Regions from separate parts of the Homo sapiens genome. Here region 1 is linked to region 2. Evidence: promoter capture Hi-C in 16 types of primary human blood cells and fetal thymus (Javierre and others, 2016). All regions are on one chromosome and are shown on one strand. The core of a region is centred on a gene start or on the middle of the fragment in contact, and the rest is flanking DNA. Distances in the headings are between cores, read along the strand shown. Region 1 overlaps C11orf65 (chromosome 11 open reading frame 65). Region 2 holds the start of DDX10 (DEAD-box helicase 10).

Region 1 (6,353 bases), core at 3,088-5,587, 250 kb after region 2:
TGTCCAGTGACTGAGCAGAATGTGGTGGGTGAGGAGATGGGTCTAGAAGCCATTGTGGCAGTATTCACTTTAGAGGTCCAAGCAGAATTGGCCCAGGCTTTGTGTGGCTTACATTGCAGTTCCAACTCTTCTTCTGCCCAGTTCTTCTTCCCTCCCCTTTCTTCCATAGGTATTGAGCCCTAATAAACCTGTGGCACTCAAACTTCATATAAGCATCTTCTTTTGGAAAACCTAATTTGAAATGTTATTTAGTTCTTCTAAATTTTCTCTGAACAAATGCTTTATAGTTTTCTATAGAGAGGTCTTACATATCTTTTGCTAGATTTATAACTTGCTTTTTAATGCTCCTATAAATGGTTAATTACAAAATTTTTATTTTCTTATTTTTGATGCTATTATGTAGAAAGACAATCAATTTTTGCACATTAGCTTTGTTCCCAACAACTTTGCAATCCTCATTTATTAATTCTAATAATGTGTACATTGATTATTTTGGATTTTCAATATAAACAATCATGTCATCCTCAATGAGTTTTGTTTTTGCCTTTTCAAACATGATACATTTTATTTCTTTTTCTTGCCATTATACACTGGCTAGAGCCTTCAGTAATGGTGAATAGAAGTGATAACCACTGTCTTATTCTGGATTTCAGAGGGAAAGGATCAATATTTCATCATTAAGTATGAGGTATGCTATTTTTGTTTGTTTGTTTGTTATAGAATCCTTTTATCTGATTAAGGAAGTTTCCTTCTATTCCTGTTGAACTAAAAGAGTTTTTTGATTTTATTTTTAGAGGCCAGGTCTCACTCTGTTACCCAGGCTGGAGTGCATTGGTGCCATCATAGCTCACTGCAGCCTCAACCTCCTGGGCTCAAGTGATCCTTCCACCTCAGCCTCCCAAGTAGCTGGGACCACAGGTGTGGGCCACCATGCCCAGCTAATTTTTTAAAACTTTTTTTGTAGAGACAGAGTCTTCCTATGTTGCCCAGACTGGTCTCAAACTCTTGTCCTCAAGCAATCCTCCTGCCTTGGCCTTTGAAAGTGCCAGGATTACAGACATGAGCCACTGTGCCCAGACAAGAGTTTTTTAGAAATCCAAGAACAGATGCTAAATTTTATGAGACCTTTTTTGCTTTAATTGAGATACAATTTTTCTTTTGTTCTTATTTTTTGTTTGAATGTTAAATCGTCTTAGCGTTCCTAGAATAGGTACATTTTGGTTATGATTATCTTATCCCTTTAAAATATCACTGAATTTAGTTTGCTAATATTTGGTATAAATATTTGCACCTGTGTTCCTGCAGAACGTCTAATTTACTGTCTCTGTCAGATTTTGGTATCACATTTAGCTGGCCTCCTAAAACAAATTGGGAAATGTTTCTACTCTGTTTATTTTCTGAATTTCTTTTTCACATTGAGTGTTATTTTCATCCTTAAATGTACTTTGTAAGGATTTACTAATGAAACCATCTGTGCCAGAAGTTTTTTCCATGAAAAGATTTTAAATTACATTCAATTTAGAATTATAGTTCTATTTCTATTTTGTATTTCTTCTTGTGCTAGCTCTGATAAGTTGTATTTTTCTAGGAAGTTTTCATCTAAATTTTCAAATTTATTAGCTTAAAATTATTCATAATACTTTTTATGATCTTTCTAATGCCTTAGAATCTGTAATAGTTATCTTTATTTTATTCCTGGTATTGGTTATTTGCATCTCCTCTTTTTTTTCTTGAGCAGTCTCTTTGGAGTTTATTACTTTTATTGGTCTTTTCCAAAAACAATTTTTAGCTTTGTTGTTTCTTTGTGTTGTTCATTTGTGTCCTACCTCATCATTTTCTGCTGTTTATTATTTCCTTCTTTATATTTTCTTTGAATTCTGTTTGCTGTTATTTTTCTAACTTTTTGAAATGGATGCTGAATTTATTGACTTGTAGCCTTTTCTGGTATATGTATTTAAGGACATAAATTTTTATCTAAGAATGGTCTTAGCTGCAGCTTACAAGTTTTGATATGTCATATTTTCATATCAAATTCAGTTCAAAATATTTTAAAATTTCTACTTTATTTCAGTTATTTAATTTGGAAATTAGCCAGTTATCTTTTTGTTGTCAGCCCTTATCTTGATTGTGCTGTACTTTCAATCCTCTGTTGTCTATTTTTTATAAATTTTTATCTGTACTTGAAAAGAATATATATTTTTTAGTTATTGAGCATAGTATTGCATAGATGTCAATTAGGTCAAATTTTTCAGTTATGTTGATCAAATCTTCTATAGCCTTACTGAATATTTTTGTCTAGTTATACTATCAGTTACTGAGAGATATGTATTAAAAGCTTCCACTATGACTGAAGATTTGTCTATTTTTCTGGTGGTTTGTATATATTTGAGACCATGTTATTAAGTGAATACTTCAGATTATTGTATCTTTCTTGAATTGAACCTTTTATCATTATAAAGTGTGTCCCTTAAGGTCTCAAATTTCTGGTATTAATACAACCACACCAACTGTCTCTTTTTTTTTTTTTAACAAATCAGAAAGTTTTACTGTCAGTAATATTGTGTTTCCTTTTTTTATTATCATACTTTAAGTTTTGAGATACTTGTGCAGAATGTGCAGGTTTGTTACATAGGTATACACTTGCCATGGTGGTTTGCTGCACTCATCAACCCATCATCTACATTAGGTATTTCTCCTAATGCTGTCCCTCCCCTAGCCCGCCACCTGCTGACAGGCCCCAGAGTGTGATGTTCCCCTCCCTGTGTCCATGTGTTCATTCTCATTGTTCAACTCCCATTATGAGTGAGAACATGCGCACACCAACTGTCTCTTATTTGCATGGTACATCTTTCCTGTCATTTTACTTCCAACATTCTGAATCTTTACATTTTTGCTGTGTCTTTTTATAGGCAGCAGGTTTTTTTTTGTTTGTTTGTTTTTGTTTTTTTGAGACAGAGTCTCGTTCTGTTGCCCAGGCTAGAGTGAAGTGGCACTATCTATCTCAGCTCACTGCAACCTCCACCTCCCGGGTTCAAGCATTCTTGTGCTCCAGCCTCCCCAGTAGTTGGAATTACAGGCATGTGCCACCACGCCCGGCTAATTTTTTGTATTTTTAGTAGAGATGGTATTTTGCCATGTTGCCCAGGCTGGTTTCAAACTCCTGAACTCAGGCAATCCTCCTGCCTCGGCCTCCCAAAGTGCTGGGATTACAGGTGTGAGCCGCCGCACCTGACCTGGCAGCAGGTTGTTAGCTAACATTTTTTATCCAGTAGGATACTCTTTGTCTTTTGTCAGAACATTTACTTCATTCACATGTAATGTAATTACTGATGTTTGGGGATTTAAATCTACCCTGTTACTATTTACTCTCTGTATGTCTCAGACGTTCTACGTTCTTTTTCAACATGTTATGGCCTTCTATGGGAATGAGTTTTTTATATTTTTCTCTATATATTATCATTCTTTTAAACTTATTCAAGAGATTGCAACATGCATATTTGACTTATGAAATCATATATAGATTTGCATTTTTATCTTCTCCCAGACAATGCACTTATTTCTCATTATCCCCTTTGACTTATATTCTTGCTGTTGTTCTTTTAAATTCTCTATTGATGGATCTTATGGTAAGAGTACATTTAGTTCAATAAGAAACTGCCAAACTTTTTCCAAAGTGGCTGTGCCATTTTGCATTCCGACCAGCAAAGAATTACCACTCCACATCCTTGCTAGCATCTAGTGTTGTCAGTATTTGAATTTGGTCATTCTAAAAGGTGTATAGAGGTATCTCATTGTTTTTGTTTTGTTGTTGTTGTTGTTTTGACACGGAGTTTCTGTCGCCCAGGCTGGAGTGCAGTGTCACAATCTCAGCTCATTGCAACCTCTGCCTCCCAGGTTCAAGTGATTCTCCTGCCTCAGTGTCCCGAGTAGCTGGAATTCACACCCCATCACGCCCGTCTAATTTTTGTATTTTTAGTAGAGACGGGGTTTCACCATGTTAGCCATGGCTGGTCTCAAACTCCTGACCTCAAGTGATCCACCTGCCTCAGCCTCCCAAAGTGTTGTGATTGCAGGCTTGAGCCACCATGCCCGGGCCCTCATTGTTGTTTTAATTTGTAATTCCTTAATGACATACAACGTTGACCATCTTTTCATATGCTTATGTATCGTCTGTATATCTTCTTTAGTGAAGATAGCTTTACAGGTCCTTTGCCCATTTTTAATTCAGGTTGTTTGTTTTCTTATAGTGAAGGTTAAAGAGTTCTTTGTATATTTTAAATACCAGCCCTTTATCAGATATGTGTTTTGCAAGTATTTTCTTCCCAGTTTATGACCTGTCTTTTCATTATCTTAATGTCTTTCATTGAGTACAACTTTTTAATGAAGTCCGTCATATCTATTATGCTTTTGGTGTTATATCTAAAAAGTCATCACCAAACCCAAGCTCACCTAGATTTCCTCCTATGTTATCTTCTAAGAGTTATATAGTTTTGCATTTTACATTTAAGTTATGATCCAGTTTTAGTTACTGTTTTGTGAAAGGTGTAAGATCTTTGTCTAGATTTTTTTTTTCTTGAACGTGGATTCCCGCAATGTCCAAATGGTGTTCCAGCACCATTTGTTGAAGACTATTCTTTTGTCACTAAATTGCCTTTGCCCCTTTGTCAGAGAATAGTTAACTGTTTGTGTGGGTCTATTTCTGGGCTCTGTCTTCTGTTGCATTGATTTATTTGTGTATTCTTTCACCAGTACCACAGTGTCTTGATTATTGTAGTTTCGTGGTAAGTCTTGAAGTTGGGTGGTGTCAATTCTCCAACTTTGTTGTTCACCTGAAATATTATAGTGGCTATTCTGGGTCTTTTGCCTTTCCACTTAAAATTTATAATCAGTTTGTCCTTATACACAAAATAAGTTCCTGGGATTTTGATTGAGATTGCATTGAATCTATAGATCCAGAAAGATGGGAAGAACAGACATCTTGACAATATTGAGTCTTCCTATTCGGGTGTATGGAATATCTCTCCATTCATTTAAATCTTCTTTGATTTCCTTCATCACGGTCTTGTAGTTTCCCTCATATCGATTTTTATATATTTTGTTAGATTTATACCTAAGTATTTTACTTTTTTGCGTGCTGATATAAATGACAATGTGTTTTAAAATTTCAAATTCTGGTTGCTTATTGCTGGTATATAATAAAGCAGTTGATTAGTATATTAACCTTGTGATTCATTGGGATTTTTTAACATAGACAATCATGTCATCTGAGAACAAAGACAGTTCTTTTTCTCCCTTCTCAATCTGTATACTTTTCATTTCCTTTTCTTGTCTTATTGCATTAGCTAGGACTTCCAGTGTGATGTTGAATAGAAAAGGTGAGGGGACATCTTTGTAGGAAAACATTTAGTTTCTCACCATTAAGTATGATATTAGGTGTATGTTTCTTGTAGATATTATTAATTAGAGGAAGTTCCCCTCTAGTCCTAGTTTGCCAAAGTTGTTATCATGAATGGGTGTTGGATTTTGTCAAATGCTTTTTCTACATCTGCTAATATGATCATATGACTTTTCTTCTTTAGCCTGTTGATACAATATAATAGTGGCCTTGCAAAATAAATCCCACTTGATCATGGTGTATAATTATTTTTATACATTGTTGGATTTGACTTACTAAATTTTTGAGGATTTTTAAGTCTATGCTCATGAGAGATATTGGTCTATAATTTTCCTTTCATGTAATGTCTCTGTGTGGTTTTTGTATTAGGGTTATGCTGGCCTCATCAAATGTGTTAGGAAGTATTCCCTTTGATTTTATTTTCTGGAAGAGACTGTAAATAGTAAAATAAATTTCTTTTTTAAATGTCTGGTAGAATTTACCAGTGAATCCATCTGGGCCTTGTGCTTTTTTTCTGTTTTGAAAAGTTTTAATTATTGATTCTATTTCTTTAATAGAGATAGGCCTATTAAAATTATCTACTACTTCTGTGATTTTTGGTAGATTATGTCTTTAGGGAATTGGTCTCTTTCATCTAGGTTATAAAATTTGAGGGCATAGAGTTATTTGTGCTCATAAAATTTGTTTATTATCCTTTTTAGTGTCCATGCAATCAGTAATGATGACCTCTATTTTGTTTCTTTTTTTTTCCTTCACCATTTTCATTCTTTACAAATTTTATTCCAAAAAAAGGGGATGTGTGTGGAAGATTAAGATGTCCATGAAGAGTAACCATCATCATGACAATAAAGTATTCAATTAGACAGAAATGACAAGGACCATTTCTGATATTAGTAATGTGTAATATCTGTCTTTTTTTCTTAGTTACCCTAGCCAGAAGCTTATCAATTTTATTGAT
Region 2 (5,664 bases), core at 1,709-4,208:
CTGAGCACCTATTCAAGGACAAGCACTGTGCTACCAGACTCTGGGGAGTGCAAAGACGAGTGTATCACTGGTTGCTGACCTTGAATGTTCATGGTCTAGTAGGAGAGTTTTTTTAAAAAAGTTAAAGAAGCCAATCATCGCAGACAGTTGATAAATGTTGTCATAAAGGTATCTACAAAATGCTACAGATGCACAGTAGCCCTAACTCGGTCAGGGGAGGTGATGAAGAGAAGTTTGCACTAAATCTTGAAGGAAGAGTACCTTTCCTTAGAGTGGGCAGATGGGTATGCTCACTGCACACAGTGGAAACATCAAGTACCAGGATGAGAAGCACAAGAAGCATGTACAATTCACAAAACTGCAAGCTGTTCCTTCATATATGCCTATCATGTACCACTTGGTGTATACACATTATCTCATTTGGGCCTTACAACACTCTGGGTGGCTAATAACTTCGGTTTTTTGAAAGAAGAAACTGAGACTTAGAGGGATGAAGAAACCTGGCTAGCCAATACCTGAAGAGTGAGATTTAAACCAGGTCAGCCTGACCACAAATAACTTACTCTGCAGCAGACTAGAACATGTTGACACGCTGTATTTGACAATTTTTCTAAAAGTAACTGTGAGCCAAGGAAGGGTTCTAATCGGCAGTAAAATGATTAGATCTTCATCTTGGAAAGAATCATTCTAGCAGAAGTACAGAGGACAAATTAAAAGGTTTAAGGCCTAGGGGACAAAGCCCATCAGCCACCTGTTTCACTAATTAAAGTTTTACTGAAAAACAACACCCATTCATTTAAGTATTTCTATGGCAGCTTTTGTATTACAAGGGAACAATTGAGTAGTTCCACCCTTAGGACTACAAAGCTGAAAACATTCACTATCATTTACAGAGAAAGTTTGCTGATCCCTGTTGAAAGCAATATTTACTATAGTAATCCAGGCAAGAGATGATGGGGACTGAAGACAATGCAGTAGGGATGAAGAAGCATTTGAAAAATGTAAGCAGAACAGATCAGCAGTGTGACCGACTGGATATAAGAGTAGGTAAGAGAGAAGTAGCTAAGACTGCTCCTAGGTTTCTAGCTCTACGGTCTGCTGAGATGGTGGAGCTAGGATGTGGTGCTGAAAATGATCCCAACTCATGTCCATGTATTAACTTCTGGAAGGGATGAATGTTACCTTACATGGCAAAAGTGACTTTTCAGATGTGATTAAATTAAAGATCTTGGGATGGGGTGATTATCCTGGATTATCTGTGTAGGCCCTAAACGCAATCGTAAGCGCCCTTATAACAGAGGAACAGAGATAGACTGACACAGGAGAAGGCAGAGACTGGAGTTATGCAGCCACAGGCCAAGGAATGCCAGCAGCCACCAGAAGCTACAAGAGGCAGGAAACAGATTCTCCCCTAGAACCTCTGGAGGGAGCAAGTCCCTGCTGACACCTTGATTTTGGCCCAGTGAAACTGATTTCAGACGTATGGCCTCCAGAACTGTGACAAGGTAAATCTCTGTTGTTGCTGGGCTTTTTTGTTTGTTTGTTTAAGACAGAGTCTCACTCATGTCACCCAGTCTGGAGTGCAATGGTGCGATCTGGGCTCACTGCAACCTCTGCCTCCCGGGTTCAAGCGATTCTCTTGCCTCAGCCTCCCGAGTAGCTGGGATTACAGGCACCCACCACTAGGCCCAGCTAATTTTTTTGTATTTTTAGTAGAGGCGGGGTTTCACCATGTTGGTCAGGCTGGTCTCGAACTCCTGACCTCAAGATCTCTGTTGTTTTAAGCCGCCAAGTTTGTGGTAATTTGTTACAATGGCAACCTTAGTTACAAGAATGTTCCATCTGTTAAATCCCTGATTGTACTGCACTAGAAGGGGGCTGAGAAGCTGAAAGATGTGGGTGAAGACCAACAAACATGGGATTTAGGGAAAGGGAAAAGAGGAATTGACAGACCTGTGGAGTCTGGAGGTTGGGGGAAGAAGTCAGGAGGTCAAAGTGATCATTACAGGTATACTCATCTGGGAACACCAGCTACAATGTGGGGATGATAGGTGACAGAAACAGACCAGCGGTCCAGCTTTTCTAGGCCAATTCTTGGATGGGGACATGAAGCCTGTGGAGAAAATGAGGTGGCCACAGGAAGGAGCATAGATGATGTTGAGGGATGCAGTCTGGCTTCATGGTTAAAAGCAAAGGCTTTGGGATTAGAAAGACATGGATCTAGCTTCCAATTCCACACCACCTACTAAGCGTGAAAGATTCGGACAAGTTTCATTCCTCTTAGAACCTCAATTATCTCATCTGTTAAATAGGATTATTAATATCCATACCTCAGATCAAGTCAAACAATTACTGTAAGCACATGGTGAGTGCTTAAAAATGTAGGTGTCATTATTACCACTATTGTCATCAGTATTATTAATATGAATATGACTGTAGCTATTACAGCATTAGTCTCCCTACCCTTAGGTACGGCCGCATTTCTATTATTTTTTTAGGAACAGTGTGGCAAGCAGAAGAGTGGCCAGAACGGTGCAGAGGTTTGAGCTGTGGCACCCGGCGTGACCTCTCATTCCCGGCCGGGTCCCGGTGACAGATCCGCCGCCTCCACTCTGCAACTCCTCGCCGCAGTGAGACGCTGCCCCGCTGCTGGCCGGCCCGAGCCCCCTCCCCAGCGCCGGCCTCACCTTTTCATAGTTCTGCATGAGGCGGCTGATACTCTCGCGCTCGACCTGCCATTCGGGTTTCTTCAGTTGCTTCCTCAACTGCTTCTTTTTGTTCTGCCTATGGCTGTGTTTTTTCTTCCAGCGATTGAAGCTCCGCACCGGGTCGGGTCGGGCTCCCGAACCCGGAGAGTTGGCCGTTTTGCCCATTGCGGCGGCGGCGGCGACAGCTCGGATCAACCCCAGACACGAGACACCTAAGGCCAGACTCACGGAACCAGCATGGGACAAACGCACAGAGGCGCATGCGCGAACTCAGAAGCCCGCCCCCGAGCTTTTGAAACCGGGGCACGCGCCAATGACGTCAGGAAAAGGAGGGCTGTGATTGGCGAATTGGCTCCTGCTGGGAGGGGCAGCCTGGGGAAACGGGGGCGCAGCACTCCACGGAAGGGGGCGAGCTGAGCCGAGCCGGGAGCACGCCGGCTCTTTAAAAAAAAACGCATGCGCACTGTTGTTGTTACTATGGTGACGTCATACACTGACCCTTTAAGGGCTATTAACACATTTGCTCCAGGTTCAACTTTGCTAAGCGTTCGTGAGTATGTGTGTAAACACATACAATCTGTGAATGAAAATTGTGACCCTCGTTTTGCACTTTTCGGGCCAACGAGCCAAAAGATTTGCCCAGAAGTAAACAGCTAGTTAGTGACTTCTGATTTCCATCCATGGTGGTTGTACTTCCTCAGGAATAAAAATGAATATTCTATATTCTTCTTATGCCCCTCTGGGTTTTCCTTTTCCTCTGGGCCCCTCAGACTCTAGCTGCAACAGCAAGGAAACTGGAACGGAATCAAATTGAATTTGCCTTAAAATGCTTTTATGGAGACAAAATGATAACTAAACGTAAGGAGGTAGGTAATAGAGGCCGGGCACGGTGGCTCACGCCTGTAATTCCAGCAATTTGGGAGGTCGAGGTGGGTGGATCACCTGAGGTCAGGAGGTCGAGACCAGCCTGGCCAATATGGTGATGCCCTGTCTCTGCTAAAAATACAAAAATTAGCCAGGCGTGGTGGTGCACACCTATAATCCTAGCTACTTGGGAGGCTGAGGCAGGAGAATCGCTTGAACCCCGGGGGCGGAGGTTATAGTGAGCCAAGATCGCCCCACTTCACCACAGCCTGGGTGAAAGAGTGAAACTCCGTCAAAAAAAAAAAAAAAAGGAGGTAATAGAAAAGTTATTGCAAGTTGGACATTTAAGTGAACTGGCTTTCAATGAATTGAATTTTTTGACACATTTACCTACAGCCTCCAGGAAAACACCGGATGTGGGTGGGAGAGCTTAGCTGTAGCAAAGGAGATTGGAAAATTGAGTTCAAAGTTCACAGGCAGAATTTTGGGCTCTCAAATTTCCTTTCCAACCCCACATATCCAGATCACTACTCTCAACTCTATGCCCATCCTCCAAACAAGACATGGCTTATTGGAAGGGAGTGAGGACAGGAGGTGAACAAGAGAATTTCCACACTCAGGAACACTAGATGTGGTAGACAGTAAAGCTCAATAAGGAGTGATTACATGAAAGTGTATATACATCCTCAAAAAATTAAAAATAGAACTCCACGTGAGCCAGCAATTTCACTTCTGGGTATGCATAGCCAAAATAATCGAAAGCAGGGTCTCAGATATTTGCATACCGTGTTCACCACAGCACTATAGCTAAAATGTGGAAGCAACCCAGGTGTCTATCAACTGATGAATGAGTAAACAAAACATAATATGTACCTAAAATGGAATATTATTCAGCCTTCATAAAGAAGGAATTTCTGACACATGCCACAACGTGGATAAACTTTAAGAATATTAAGCTAAGTGAAATAAGCCAGTCACAAAAGGACAAATACTATATATGGTTCTATTTATATGAGAAACTTAGAGTTGTCAAAATAATAGAGAAAGTAGACTTGTGGTTGCCAGGGACTCAGGCAACCAGGGGGTTACTGTTTAATCAGTGCAGAGTTCCAGTTTGGTAAGATGAAAAGAGTTCTGCAGATTGGTTGCACAACAATGAGAATGTAATTAATGCAACTGAATTGTATACTTACAAATGGCTAAAATGGTAAATTTTATGTGATGTGTATTTTACTACATATGTATACCACATATGCATACCTACAGAACGATAAGGCCCTCAGCTATAACTCACTTTTTTCCTAAAACTGTAGGAGTCAGGCATATATGCGCCCCAGGCAAGAAACTGGAAGGTTCAACTCTAGGAAAACTGAATGTCCAAGAGAAAGACCTCAATAACATCTAGGGGCCAGGCACGGTGGCTCATAGCTATAATCCCAGCACTTTCTGAGGCCAAGGTGGGAGGATTGCTTGAACCCGGAAGTTCGAGACCAGCCTGGGCAACATAGTGAGACCTTGCCTGTACCAAAATTCAAAAAAATTAGCCGAGCTTGGTTGCACACACCTGTAGTCCCAGAAACTAGGGGGCCAAGGCAGGAAGTTCACTTGAGCCTACAGAAGTCAAGGCTGCAGTAAGCCCTGATACTGCCACTGCACTCCAGGCTGGGTGACAGAGCCAGACTCTGTCTCAAAAAAAAAAAAACAAAAACAAAAACAAAAAGAGAGAGAAAGAAAAAAGACATTTTGGCAGCAGCCAAATAAATGACAACTCACTAACCACCCCATTGCTCTTTAGTGAAACTTATCAGTTAATAAGCCCTCCATTCACTCATTTCTACTCAGCCTTATTCTTAAATATGGGCGAATAACCAAAGACCAACAAATATTTTAGGAAATCCTTTAACTTAAAAGTTGTAAGCCAAAATTAGTAAACTAATGCAGAGAGCAAAATAGGCCTTCAAAAAAAAATCACTATCAATATTCTTAGGAAAATAAGGCCTCATATCCAAGAAATAAAAACAGGGAATACTCAGAGAACAAAACAAAACTCTTCATAGAAGTCATTTTGTTTGTTAAATAAACCAAATTGTTA

Evidence for each region. The method cuts DNA at HindIII sites, captures the fragments that hold promoters and counts their contacts. A CHiCAGO score of 5 or more calls a contact.
Region 1: a fragment that was not itself captured here is called in contact with the fragment with the promoter of DDX10 in region 2 in 1 of 17 cell types (naive CD4 T cells); the score reaches 6.0 in naive CD4 T cells.

Annotation. Positions count from the first base shown.
Region 1 is chr11:108,414,142-108,420,494 of GRCh38, reverse strand. The region is part of intron 3 of C11orf65 (chromosome 11 open reading frame 65); the gene reads left to right. Among named protein-coding and RNA genes, the nearest start is that of C11orf65, 50 kb to the left of the region's middle. The HindIII fragment of the contact is 4,000 bases long and covers 2,338-6,337 here.
Region 2 is chr11:108,662,363-108,668,026 of GRCh38, reverse strand. DDX10 (DEAD-box helicase 10) reads right to left here and starts at 2,958. Exons shown (of 18, transcript NM_004398.4): 1 at 2,688-2,958. The coding sequence starts at 2,873. The HindIII fragment of the contact is 12,853 bases long and covers 1-5,664 here.